Regions from separate parts of the Homo sapiens genome. Here all the other regions are linked to region 2. Evidence: promoter capture Hi-C in 16 types of primary human blood cells and fetal thymus (Javierre and others, 2016). All regions are on one chromosome and are shown on one strand. The core of a region is centred on a gene start or on the middle of the fragment in contact, and the rest is flanking DNA. Distances in the headings are between cores, read along the strand shown. Region 1 overlaps AP4S1 (adaptor related protein complex 4 subunit sigma 1). Region 2 holds the start of AP4S1 (adaptor related protein complex 4 subunit sigma 1). Region 3 overlaps STRN3 (striatin 3). Region 4 overlaps HECTD1 (HECT domain E3 ubiquitin protein ligase 1).

Region 1 (3,516 bases), core at 368-2,867, 69 kb before region 2:
ATTGCACTGTACTCACTCTTCTCATGATCTGTCCATCTGGTAACCAAGACAGTTACCAAATGACTGTCAAGTGGGGAGTGTATACAGCATGCATATGCTGGACAAAGGGACGATTCACCTCCCAGGCAAGACGGAGCGGGACAGAGCAGGACAAAGTGGGATGGTGCAAGATTTCATCACACTACTCAGAATGGCATGCAGTTTAAAACTTATACATTGTTTATTTCTGGAATTTTCTGTTTAATATTTTGGGACCTCAGTTGACCATGAGTAACACAAACCACAGAATGCGAAACAGTGGATAAGAGAGGGACTACTGTACATACTTTCGCCTAAGACAGTTCTGTATATTCTTCTGTTAACGGGGTAGCAAAAGCATATAGAAAGGTTTTGGGGGGATGCAGTGCATTGCTCTTCTGTAATGACAGTAATTTACTTCAAGACATTGCAGGAGAAGGGGTTAAAGGAGTAAAGGGGAGGAAGAGAAGGATTCATTTCATGCCTACCTGTACAGAGACACTTTCTTGCTTTCTACTTTTTTTTTTTTTTTTTTTTTTGAGACGGAATCTCACTCTGTGCCCAGGCTGGAGTGCAGTGGCACAATCTCGATCTCAACTCACTGCAACCTCTGTCTCCTGGGTTCAAGTGATCCTCCTACCACAGCCTCCCAAGTAGTTGGGATTATAGGCGCGTGCCACCATGCCCGGCTAATTTTTCGTAGTTTTAGTAGAGACAGGGTCTCACCATGTTGGCCAAGCTGGTCTTGAACTCCTGACCTCAAATGATCTACCCACCTTGGCGTCCCAAAGTGCTGGGATTATAGGCGTAAGCCACCATGCCTGGCTGCATTCTACTTTTAAACTTTGAACTAAATTTCATTAACAGTAAGCTTATTAATAAGCAAACCTTTTAAAATGTGGCATAAAAAGACTGGGCACAGTGGCTCAGGCCTGTAATCCCAACACTTTGGAAGGCGAAGGCAGATGGATCATGTGACTGCAGGAATTCGAGACCAGTCTGGGCAACATAGTGAAACCCTATCTCTACAACAAAATACAAAAATTAGCTGGGTGGAGGGGGTGCGCACCTGTGGTCCCAGTTACTCAGGAGGCTGAGGTGGGAGGAGCACCTGAGCCCAGGAGGTACAGGCTGTAGTGAGGCATGATCACACCACTGCACTCCAGCCTAGGAGACGGAGATGCTGTCTCCAAAAAACAAACAAAAAACGGGATAAAGGATAGCTGTAGGGGCTCTCTGGGGCTGTCTTAATGTCTGACCATCCATTATTTGAAAGTAATGTTCTCTATAGAGTTAATTACATAATGGCATTGTAATTACTAAGTGCCCTTAAAATGAGTATCAAAGGCTTTTACAAACTGGCAAATAAAATTTAACTCTGCATCTTTGTTAGGTACATGTTATAAAAGTTTTTTTGTTTTGTTTTTGTGTTTTTGAGGCAGGGCCTCACTCCATTACCCAGGTTGGAGTACAGTGTTGTGATCATAGTTCACTGCAGCCTCAAACTCCTAGGCTTGATCAATTCTCCCATCTCAGCCTCTTGAGTAGTTAGGAGTACAGGTGCTCACCACCACAGCTGGCTAACTTTTTAATTAGTTATTTACTTATTTTTAGAGACAGGGTCTCACTCTGTCGCCCAGGCTGGAGTGCAGTGGCATGATCTCGGCTCACTGCAACCTCTGCCTCCCGGGTTCAAGCAATTCTACTGCCTCAGCCTCCTGAGTAGCTGAGATTAGAGGTGCTTGCCACCATGCCTGGCTAACTTTTTGTATTTTTAGTAGAGACAAGGTTTTGCCATGTTGGCCAGGCTGGTTTCAAACTCCTGACCTCAAGTGATCTGCCTGCCTCGGCCTCCCAAAGTACTAGGATTACAGGCATGAGCCATCACACCTATTTATTTTTTGTAGAGATATGGTCTTGCTGTGTTGCCCAGGCTGGTCTTGAACTAATGGGCTCAACCAATCCTCCTGGCTTGGCCCCCCAAAATGTTGGGATTACAGGCCTGAGCCACCGCACTCGGACTTTTTTATTTTTGAGACAGGGTTTCACTCTGTCACCCAGGCTGGAGTGCAGTGACACGATCATAGCTCACTGCAGACTCGAACTCCTGGGCTCAAGAAATCTTCTGCCTCAGACTCCCGAGTAGTTGAGACTACAGGTATGTGCCACCACACCCGGCTGATTTTTGCATTTTTTGTAGAGATGAGGTCTATGTTGCCCAGGCTGGTCTTGAATTTCTGGCCTCAAGCGATCCTCCTTCCTCAGCCTCCCAAAGTGCAGGGGTTACAGGTGTGAGGCACTGCACCAGCCCCACATTACAAAGCTTTTAGAGCCAGGCCAGGAAGGTTCAAGGTTGTAGTACAACATGATCATGCTTGTGAAAAGCCACTGCAGTCCAGCCTGGACAACACAGCAAGACCTGCTTCTCTTAAAAACAAACAAACAAAAAACACCTCTTGGCTGGGCATGGTGGCTCATGCTTGTAATCCCAGCACTTTGGGAGGCTGAAGCAGGTGGATCACTTGAGGTCAGGAGTTCAAGAACAGCCTGGCCAACATGGTGAAACCCTATCTCTACTAAAAATACAAAAATTAGCTGGGCTTTACATAAAACCGGGCAGGGCATGGTGGCTCACATCTGTAATCACAGCTCAGTCTCCTGGGGACTACATGCCTGTAGTCGCAGCTACTCAGGAGGCTGAGGCAGGAGAATTGCTTAAACCCAGAGGTGGAGGTTGCAGTGAGCTGAGATCACACCACTGCACTCCAGCTTGGGTGACAGAGCAAGACTCCGTCTTAAAAAACAAAACAAAAAAACAAACAAAAAAACACCTCTTAAAAAGTTAATTTTACTAAGCCTTTTAAAGGAATAAGACAGCCTTCAGAAGTCAGGCACTGTGGCTCATCTGTAATCCCAGCGTTCTGGGAGGCTGAGGCAGGCAGATCACCTGAGGTCAGGAGTTTGAGACAGCCTGGCCAACATGGTGAAACCCTGTCTCTACTAAAAATACAAAAATTAGCCAGGTGTGGTGGTGCATGCCTGTAGTCCCAGCTCGGAGGCTGAGGCAGGAGAATCGCTTGAACCCCGGAAGTGGAGGTTGCAGTGAGCCGAGAATGTGCCAGGTGACACAGCTAGACTAGACTCCGTCTCAAAAAAAAAAAAATAGCTTTCAGAAAACAGCGTTACTCAAAATGCCTTGTGTTTAAATTTTAAAACTTTATTGGCTGACGGAAAACTGCCATACTTTCTTCCCACTACCATCCTGCTATTCCTGAATTCAATTTGCAAAAGAAGCATAGACCAAGAAGGGTTCCTTAGGTGCTCAACAGAATTTAAAGTGCGACAGATATGTTTACAATTAGAAAATAAAACTTCTCTCTCAGTTTAAAGAAATTTTTTTCTTTGTACATATTTTAAAGTACAGTTGTGTTTTCTTTTTAGGAACTGTGGAAAATGCCTATTTATAATGTCTTTGGAAGGATACCCCATTTTGTAATT
Region 2 (3,448 bases), core at 1-2,500:
GGGCCCACCCTTGGGACTGCCTGAAACACTCAAAGAATGAAAAAGAAACGTCAGGAATCCGAGACGGGATGCGGTCGGCCAGAGCGACCAGCCAGGTTAACAACCAGCTCAGAAAGCCGGGACACGGGTGAGAGACCCCTGGGAAGGAAACAGCGCCCGGGGACGGCCTGCTAAAAGGAAACTGATAACCAGGAAGCCTAAGGCCGCCTCGCTTCCAAAAGTCAGAGTCGGAGCCCAGGTGTCCGGTAGCTGCGGCCAGACACCGGATCGGGTCTGAGGGCGGGCCTAGGGGCGGAGCCCGAGCTCTTTCCCCGCCCTCTAACGGCGACCCGGGCTGCGTTCTCAGTGCGCCGGCGTAGGGTGAGGCCGGACTCTATTTGGCGATTAAGCGTGAGGCTGCGTTCGCTACCCAGCATGCTGTGCGCTAGTGACGGCCCTCCGCCTATCCCCTTCCCAACTCTCCCCCCACCCCTCCCGCCGAGGCCCCCCCTTCCCCTAAAGTGAGTGAGTGAGACGGGCAGATGGAGGAGGGATTGTAATGGCGGCAGCCGGCAGCTCCCTGCTCTGACCCACGGCAGGCACACAGCAACGACCCCTTCCCCGCCCCTCTCCCGGCCGGCCTCCGCCCCGCAGCCAGCGCGGGGCCACCCTCTCCGGCCCTTCCCCCAGCTGTCGGCGTCTCGCCCTGCGCCCCGGCCGGGGCCCCACACACAATGGACGAGCTTGCCGGAGGCGGTGGTGGCGGCCCGGGGATGGCGGCCCCTCCCCGGCAGCAGCAGGGACCTGGGGGGAACCTGGGCCTTTCGCCCGGGGGGAACGGAGCGGCGGGCGGCGGGGGTCCTCCGGCCTCCGAGGGAGCGGGTCCCGCGGCAGGCCCCGAGCTGTCCCGGCCGCAGCAGTACACTATCCCGGGGATACTGCACTACATCCAGCACGAGTGGGCTCGGTTCGAGATGGAGCGGGCGCACTGGGAGGTGGAACGGGCCGAACTGCAGGTACCTCGTTGGGGTCGGTGTGCGGGAGCTGCGGCGGCTGGGTTCCCGGCCGGGGGGTGGGGCTGGGGACTCCACTCAGCCGGAGCCGGCGCCTTGGGAGGCCGAGCGGAACCTACCTGTGCTGCTCAGGTTGTGATGGTCCTCTCAACGGCTTTTCCTGGAGTCCCCCTCCCTCTTTCCCGCATAAGCTTGCTCCCCAACCTTCACTGGCTACGCGGTGCGGGCCTCCTCGGGGCAGCCATTTTGGCTTTTAGTATGGCGTCTGCGGGGGCTCCTCCGGAGGCGGCCTTCCCGGGCCTCCGGGGCTTGGGACCGAGCACCTCTCTGTGGGAGAGTCCGGTTTGGGGCCTCTCAACACTGAGTTTGCTCTTGTTTGTTCCTCTTGAGATGAAGAGCCCGAAGAGAGGGACTAGGATAGGCATCTTACCCCCCTTTTCCGGACCACCCCCCTTTCCGATTTGGCGTATCTGGCCCCCTCCCTCAGACTTGGTACGCGCTTGCCCCTTGACAGCCACGCTTCTTTCCTGGGCTGCTAGGGTGCACAGTGACTTGGGACTGACCTGTGAAGTTTTATTTCCCATCGTCAACTTTAAGTACTTTCTCACCTGAGATGCTGCCTTACTCACTTGGATTCTCTGTAGTTATTCCTTACTTAGTGACTCATCAACGCTTTCAGCACTGAATTTTTCTTTTTACAGTACTCTCCACTAGATCTCCTTTCCCCCATCCGTTTCTTTATCTATAAAAAAACCAAACCAGACGATCGATGCTGTATTTATGAAACGACTGAAGAGATTTAATATTCCCTTGAAGTGAAACGTAGTTATATCATGTTACTTACTCTTGCAGGAGAAGCAAAGTGAGATGTTCTCGGAACCCTTCATAGTTGAGCTTGACTCGATCCTCATAATGTGAACCTTTGATAGGCTGCACATTTGGAAGCTGTTGGTAGTTAACAGCTCATGTCCTGGATCTCAAAATTGCTGCATCTTTTTGAAAGGGTTATTTAACTTTCTTGGGTATTTGTGTTTATTTTTAAATACCTTTCCAGGGCAAATTTAGGCTTAGAAGGAAAAAGCGTGTGTCTAAATAGTATTGCACCTGTTCTTCAGACTGTTGTGTATTTAGGGGGTAAGCAGTATTTGCTGTCATATATGTCATATGCCTATGGTGAATCGTTAGGCAAATGTAGTGCTGAAAGGAGGAGGATTGGATTAACTAGAAAGGGTGTCCTCAAATATGCATCTCTTTAGTTTGGTTCTGAACTAGTAAACTTTTATATGACTCCACAAAGTGGGTGAAGTTAAACTTTTCAAAAGTAAAAAATACTTGGGTATTTTGACACTGTATGAAGTCTTAAAAAAAAGTAACACTTGTTAGTCATTTCAGTGCTTTACAATTGTGTTTTGATATAATATTGGGCTTTAAAATTACATAACTTTAAAAAAGCTGAAGTCAAAACTGGTTTAAGTTGTGTACAGTCTGCTTTAACATACTTAAAATTTATAGAATTCTGTTGGTATACAGCTTTCTACTACATACTGCAAACTTAATTTTCTGTGTGAGTAAAGTAAGTAAGGCATTTGTTTTTAAAATTTGGATTGACAAATGCAGTAAGGCCTAAGCTCACTAAATAATACTTCACCAGTCCCTGCTATGGTTTCTTAGACCTTTGTACTGTTGTATGCAAGTTTGGATTTCAACACTCTTCAAGTTAGCAATTGCATTTTTCACCCATAAACTTCACTAATGTAAGCAGCTGAGAAGAAAGATATCTTGTGCCCAAATTAGTAAAACCTATACTATATATTAAAGAAGCCTTTATTGCCTGCTCTAGCATTTGCTTTCCCTTCTAGGTCTCCTTAACAGCAGCAGCAGTGTTTTAAGGTAGATTCCTTTTGCTTGCTTGCTTGCTTTCAATTCTATTGGTACAGTACTGTTATTAGCCATCCTAAGTTTTTGTTTGTTTCCTTGTTTTGAAGAAGTCCTACAGTGTTTCTAGACTCTTTTTTATTTCATACTGATTCTTTTGGAATAAAATGTTCATGATGGCGTTGGTTTTTTTTTTTTTGAGTTATATATTTAAAATGTTTTATTGGGTTAACTTAATAAGGTTTCTAGTTTGCTTTAGGTGCCTTCAGTCTACTGAGATTGCTTGTGAGATGCGTATTTTAAAATGTATGTGTTGAATACATATTTGTGGGAGGGTGTAGTGAAGCATCAGTGGATTTTTACTGTAAACTTAAACCTATTTTTAAGAAAGACAATCTAGAAATAAGACAACTTACATATTATTATGTACAGTCTCCAGTGCACTGTCATGTACACAGATTTTTAAAGTGTTAATTATTGAATAGTTTCAATAGAGAACGTGAAGAGCTTAAGGAATACCCCATATTGATGTAAAATTTTAATGGGGAATAATATTTTCCCTGGCTTTGGGAAAGATATTA
Region 3 (3,215 bases), core at 25-2,524, 100 kb after region 2:
TACTAAGTGAGATATACAATATAATTGAGATGCACTTTATCTTATTAGTACTCTAAGAGTCAGTACCTTGAAACTAAGAAACTAAAGAGGCTTGATGCAGTTATTTTGGTCTCAGGCTTCAAAGGGTTAAGCTTTCTTTTCCTTTTAACTTTTTATTTTGACATAATTTCTGACTTAAGAAAATTTTGTGAGAATAGTACAGAGAATTCCATATACTTTTCACCCAGGTTACCCACCAAATGTTAACACTTTACCACACTTGCTTTTCCCTTTCCTTTCTGTAAATATATTCTTTTTTATTTTGAGACAGGCTGTCACTCTGCTGCCTCGGATGGAGTACAGTAGCACATTGTAGCTCACTGCAACCTCAAACTCCTGAGCTCAAGCAATCTTTCCACTCCCGCCTTGCTGGGACCACAGGTGTGCACCACTATGCCTGGCTAATTTTTACATTTTTTAATAGACAGGATCTCTGTATGTTGCCCAGGCGGATCTCAAACTCCTGGCCTCAACTGATCATCTCACCTCAACCTCCAAAAGCATTAAGATTTCAAGCATGAGGCTGGGTGCAGTGGTTCATGCATGTAATCCCAGCACTTTGGGAGGCTGAGGCGGGCAGATCACCTGAGGTCAAGAGTTTGAGATCAGCCTGGCCAACATGGTGAGACCTTGTCTCTACTAAAAATACAAAAAAAATTAGCTGGGCGTGGTGGCTCATGCCTGTAGTCCCAGCTACTTGGGGAGGCTGAGGCAGGAGAATCGCTTGAACCCAGGAGACGGAGGTTGCAGTGAGTCAGGATCGCGCCACTGCACTCCAGCCTGGGCGACAGAGGGAGACCATCTCAAAAAAAAAAAAAAAAAAAAGATTTAAGGCATGAGCCATTGTACCTGGCCATGTTTTTTTTTTGTTGTTTTTTGTTTTTTTGTTTTTTTTTTTTTGAGTAGTTCAGAAAACTAAGTTGTAGACATGTTGCTCTTTAAATATATTAGTATATATTTAAACAAAGATACTCTCATGTATGACCACAGTACAGTCATGAAAATCAAGAAGTAAGTGTTGATGCAATACTAATATCTAAGCTAAAACTCAGTTTTCTTTCACTTTTTAATAATTTCTATGTTTTCTGTAATTTGGGAGGAGCTTGAATTAATCTTTTGTAAAAATTTTGGGCTGGTAGCATTTTTCTAACTTTTTAAGGTCTCCATTTGTGCTGTATTTTATATCTTAGTAAAAACATATAAATCAATGATTAAAAATCACAGTATGAACGAAGCATCTGAAATATGGAGGCTTTAGTTAGAATATGAGAGAGCAGCTAAAAATCTTTTAAGACTTTCTTTGATATTTGTTACTCTTTTTCAACATGGACAATTTAAACTGTGGATTATAATAATGTATTTTCCTTTGATAGGAGCTGTTATTCTTATAGCCTGTTGTTACTCTTAAGCTATATTATACCTATAAAATTTAAACTTACCAAGAAAAGATTATTTCATTTCCTTTCTTGAAAAGATGTATAGGCTTTCCCCATTTTAAAAATTCATATTTGGGGAATATGTATGTTTGCATTCCTGGTTCTTAGTGAGTGGACTTATCTTAATTTTCCTAATTATTCTCGTTTATCTTAACTTTTCTGTCTTTTCTATATATGGAATATGACTTTTTTGCCATTTCCCTTCTCTCCGTTACTGGTGTTGCAGAATTGCTATGCACCTTCTGGCCTGATTATCAATACATTTGAAAAGGGGGAAGTCTTGTAACTTTTTCAACATTTCTTTTAATATAAATCATAAGTGAGCTCCCCCAAGTCATTTTCTAATTTTTATTTTTAAAGTTTTGTATTAATATTTGTCATTTACTATTCCAGATCCAAGAAAACATGTTGTCACCAGGAAATACAGTTGTTTAAAGTGTGACTTGAAGCCAAATATCCAAAATTAGGTATTTGAATACATTTAAGAAGAACTTACTCTTAAGTAGGCTTTTAAAAACACCTTTGCTCACACTACAAATTATCTGTTATGATTAAGCTACTTCCGTTTAGCACATAGTACTAATTCGAAGAGCCCACAAAATAGTTATATTCTCTCTCCTCCCTCAAAGACAAAAACAAAATTGTTTCATAGCAAAGAGATGTTATTTTCAACTAGGCATGTGGTTTTATGTTACTGGCTTTAATTTCATTCTTTAAAAACAAACATTCATGTCCTTTAACTCGGGATTTTTTTCTTTCAAGAAAATAACTTAGGTATTTTGCCTAGGATCAGAATGTATCAGATTGATACTCTAATCAGTGCACTTTTTAAAACCGAAGAGTCACTTTGCAGCTGAAGTTATTTTTTCTTATTATTGTGATCTCATATTTATTTAAGACAACAATTGTCTTAAATAAATTAAATAAAGCTGTGAAAGCTTTAATTATGATAGAAAATAGAACAGATCTAGCAAACATGACTTAACTAAATTTTTGTGCTAAAATAAGCGTATCTTTTCCAGATTGTTTGCCTGCTAACAGTTAAGCTTCAGAATATAAAAGTTGATCAACAAAGGGAGGGCTCATTTGAGAAAGGGGAAATGTTAGATTTGTTCAAAAGTACTATTTTACTTACAGTTATATAGGGCGTAGGAAGATAAATTTCATGGCATGAGTATGTGTGTTTGAGCGGAATTTGAAAATGTAACAGTAGTCTATAGTTTGGCTTACACGTGGCATAATTAGTATGTTTTTCATTGTGTCAGTCTAGAGGATTATGCATTTATATAGGACTTTGTATTTGTTAAGAGGTAGGTGGGTTGTATTCATAGTAGTAGAAAAGTTTTTCTAGCTGGGCATGGTGGCTCATGCCTGCAATCCTAGCACTTTGGGATGCTTAGGAGAGAGGATTGCTTGACCCCAGGAGCTCAATACCAGGCTAGGCAGCATGGTGAGACCATCTCTACAAAAATAAAAAATACAAAAATTAGCTGAGTGTGGTAGTGCATGCCTGTGGTCCCAGCTACTCTGGAGACTGAGGTAGGTGGATTGCCTGAGCCTAAGAGTTCAAGACCAGCCTGGACAACATGGTGAGACCCTGTCTCTACAAAATTTTTTTTTAAATTAGCCAAGCTTGATGGTACGTGCCTGTGGTCCCAGCTACTGGGCAGGCTGAGGCGGAAGGATCACTTGAATCCAGGAGGTCAAGAGCCAAGGAGATCAAGGCTGTAGAGAGCCATG
Region 4 (3,285 bases), core at 578-3,077, 110 kb before region 2:
CCGGTTTTTTCCCCTAGTTTATTTTCAAGCTTACTGTGAGTTTTATTTTAATTTCTTATGTTTTTCTTTATCTTGTTAGTCTCACACCATAATTTTTATGGTATCATAAATCATATAGAAGAAAAAGGATTAACATTTTTACTGTTTTTTAATAATGCATGGAACAAGAAACATTGTCTCTTTATCTGTTAGTAGATTATTATTATTTCAAAGTGTTTCTTAGCCTACCTGCTTTTTGGGGAGGAGTTTATCATGTTTTCTAAATATTGCTATGTGAATCAAGTTTCTTTGATGCTGCACAGTTTAGCAAAGTCATCCACTTAATAAATTGCTATTAACTTTAAAGCAATTATAGTGGCTAATTATTTTCTTCAAACTATAAGGCTGACTTATTAGCAGATAATTTGCCTAAATGGCAGTGGGTTTGTTTTCATCAATTTTGTATCAGTTTTTGGCATTAAAAAAAGTAAAAATGTTTATATTCTCAACTTACACCACATATATATATCCACATATATGTGTGTGTATATATATGTATTTTTTTTTTTTTTTTTGAGACAGAGTCTCGCTCTTGTTGCCCAGGCTGGAGTGCAATGGCGCAATATCAGCTCACTGCAACCTCTGCTTCCCAGGTTCAAGCGATTCTACTGTCTCAGCCTCCTGACTAGCTAGGATTATAGGCATGGGCCACCATGCCTGGCTAATTTTGTATTTTTAGTAGAGACGGGGTTTCTCCATGTTGGTCAGGCTGGTCTTGAACTCCCGACCTCAGGTGATCCACCCACCTCGGCCTCCCAAAGAGCTGGGATTACAGGCGTGAGCCACCGCACGCGGCAACTTACACCACATATTTAAAGAGCTAGAATAAATGTGACGGTACTTACGAGAATGACTGACATTTAATTTCATGTTTTATGTGGTAAAGACATTTATTTATTCAAATAAACCCTTTGACTATATTGCTTTTAAGATTCTATTCCTTGAATTATTTTACTGCCAAATGTATTTATGTAGTATCATGCCCTAATTGCAAATCATTGTAATCAAAACAGGTTTACAGCGACCTAAAATTCATAAATACCAGTAATAGTTGAGATATCAACTATTATTGTTATACTGAGTTGAATAGTAGTGCCATTCAACTCAGAAAATTTCAAGTTTTCTTTTTAGGCATCTTGATGATACTTATTAAAAAGTTGTTATTCTATTTCCTGTAATTGTTTTGGCCTTGATGTATGTGACTTGATAAGAAGAGGCTAGTTAGAGATGTGTGAATGCAGTTCTTTTTTCTCAGGATGGAGTCAACTGAAGCAATTGCATAGGGAAATTAGAATCTTTTTTTTTTTCCCAAGATACAATGGCACAACAGTTTTAATACAACCACCAGTCTTCAAAAAATAATTTTAATACTTTGTGCCTGTACTAGCAGCATCTTGCACTGTGACATTCCTATACATACATAAGCATTTTATTGAAGTACAAATGTTAAAAGCAGAGTAACTTAAGCAATTGCCTATACAAAGGTAAATAGACACTGTGGGTTATTTTTCTTCTCGATTCATTTTTGCTGCATAGTAAGTTGCAATTACATGTCAGTATAATAATGTTACTGATCTATAAAATATATTTGAACCGTGAGGTATGGCACCTCCCTATGAGAGAGTGCTAACATGTACATCTGAATATTTTGAGTGTTTTTTGTTTGTTTGTTCGTTTTAGCTGCCACAGATGGGAAAAAAAAAAATCACCTAGCCTAGAAATCTCAGAGTTTAGCGTTCAAGAAAGGCCTATTTTTGCTAATCTGACAAATGTAGAAATTTAGTTTTGCCTAATCAACATGGCCATTCCCATCAAGTTATGCCTTTGAGTCTCTATGTCAGAGAGGGTTCTTAGCTTTCAAATACTTAAACCAACCATTTCTAATGATGGATAGTCATTACTGACTCTATTTTTTTTTTTTTTTGGTTTATCTTTTGGGTGTAGAAGGAGTTGAGAGAGTATGTTTTTTGGGCCAATTAATATAATACAAAAGTTACTTTTATTTGAGATTGGGCTATGTTTTTGAAACTTTTCCTTTTCTCACACATTTCTGTGTAGCAGAAGAGATAGTTAAATGTTGGTTCTTCAGAGATTATTTCAGCATACAGAAAAAAATAGAGGCAATTGAAAAATCTCATCTAAGCTACTTATGTAGATTTGGGGCAGTCACTTTTCCTTTCAAAGAACACATATGCAGATAATCCCCACAGGTAATTCAATATTATTTCCCTCTGAGTGCTATCATAAACATATGAACTTGGTGTAAGTGTGGGTGAGCATCTGGGTGTGTGGATGGGTGTGTATGTGATCTTGGGCCCCTTTTATGTATGGGTAAGAACTTTATAAAGGCTTGTTATACTTCTAAAAAAATGTTTTTTATGTCTTATGTTTTTCCCTGAAATAGTTAGCTTATAACACTAAAATAAGATTGTAAAATTTCTATTAATTTGCTTTTAATAGACAATTTTTTTTTTGCTTTTGGAAGTTAATTACCTTTTTAAAAAAAGAATATCATTTTTCTACTACAAGTAAATATATAGATTGAATATCATTATGCTCGTTAATTCTGTACATGTTATTAGCTTTAGCAGATAGTTCTAATAAAAGAGTTCAGTATGCTCTTTAAATTTTTTTTTAGAATTTTCTGTGTTTATTCAAATTTATTGAACTTAATTATTTAATATAAGAGAACCAAGGAACCACTGAACTTTGAGAACACAACCGAAATGCTAACTTTAGTGTTTTATTTGAACTAGTGACTAAAATTTCTATGGCAATATATGAATATTTTGAGAGGTTAGCCCAAATTGTAAGAAATTAATGGTAAGCTGGCATGTTTTTGTAGAAAAAAAATTTGACTACACATAATTATATTTAGCAGTTTTAAAACTTTTACCTAGATTCTGTTTACTTGCTGAAGTGGCAGTATTTTACCATGTATATCAATCTTTTAAAATTTCTTAAACAGTTCTTCCATTTAAGAAGTAACCAAGCCAGGTGCAGTGGCTCACATCTATAATCCCAGCTACTCCAGAGGCTGAGGTGGGAGGATCGTTTAAGCCCAGGAGTTCAAGATTAGCATGGGCAACGCAAGACCTCATCTCTAAAAATCAAATAATTTTAAAAATGAAATATAACCCAGTAGATTTAAACATGACCCTTACATTGCTTTTAAATGTCATAGACTGAATAGTTCAGAAATAAGGGAAATAAAAGGAAGAATTTTAAACATTTCCTGGAAACCTT

What was found. The method cuts DNA at HindIII sites, captures the fragments that hold promoters and counts their contacts. A CHiCAGO score of 5 or more calls a contact.
Region 1: a fragment that was not itself captured here is called in contact with the fragment with the promoter of AP4S1 in region 2 in 1 of 17 cell types (erythroblasts); the score reaches 7.1 in erythroblasts.
Region 3: a fragment that was not itself captured here is called in contact with the fragment with the promoter of AP4S1 in region 2 in 1 of 17 cell types (erythroblasts); the score reaches 5.8 in erythroblasts.
Region 4: a fragment that was not itself captured here is called in contact with the fragment with the promoter of AP4S1 in region 2 in 1 of 17 cell types (erythroblasts); the score reaches 5.5 in erythroblasts.

What each region holds. Positions count from the first base shown.
Region 1 is chr14:31,093,131-31,096,646 of GRCh38, reverse strand. AP4S1 (adaptor related protein complex 4 subunit sigma 1) reads right to left here. Exons shown (of 6, transcript NM_001128126.3): 6 at 197-3,516. Among named protein-coding and RNA genes, the nearest start is that of STRN3, 69 kb to the right of the region's middle. The HindIII fragment of the contact is 1,452 bases long and covers 892-2,343 here.
Region 2 is chr14:31,023,451-31,026,898 of GRCh38, reverse strand. AP4S1 (adaptor related protein complex 4 subunit sigma 1) reads right to left here and starts at 1,250. Exons shown (of 6, transcript NM_001128126.3): 1 at 1,112-1,250. It overlaps STRN3 (striatin 3), which reads left to right and starts at 520. Exons shown (of 18, transcript NM_001083893.2): 1 at 520-995. The coding sequence starts at 714. RefSeq lists enhancers at 22-181, 1,292-1,401, 1,472-1,571 and silencers at 312-631, 722-981, 1,121-1,302. The HindIII fragment of the contact is 24,948 bases long and covers 1,186-3,448 here.
Region 3 is chr14:30,921,937-30,925,151 of GRCh38, reverse strand. The region is part of intron 8 of STRN3 (striatin 3); the gene reads left to right. Among named protein-coding and RNA genes, the nearest start is that of COCH-AS1, 34 kb to the right of the region's middle. The HindIII fragment of the contact is 2,282 bases long and covers 134-2,415 here.
Region 4 is chr14:31,129,707-31,132,991 of GRCh38, reverse strand. All of the region lies in intron 24 of HECTD1 (HECT domain E3 ubiquitin protein ligase 1), which reads left to right. Among named protein-coding and RNA genes, the nearest start is that of HECTD1, 76 kb to the left of the region's middle. The HindIII fragment of the contact is 3,591 bases long and covers 32-3,285 here.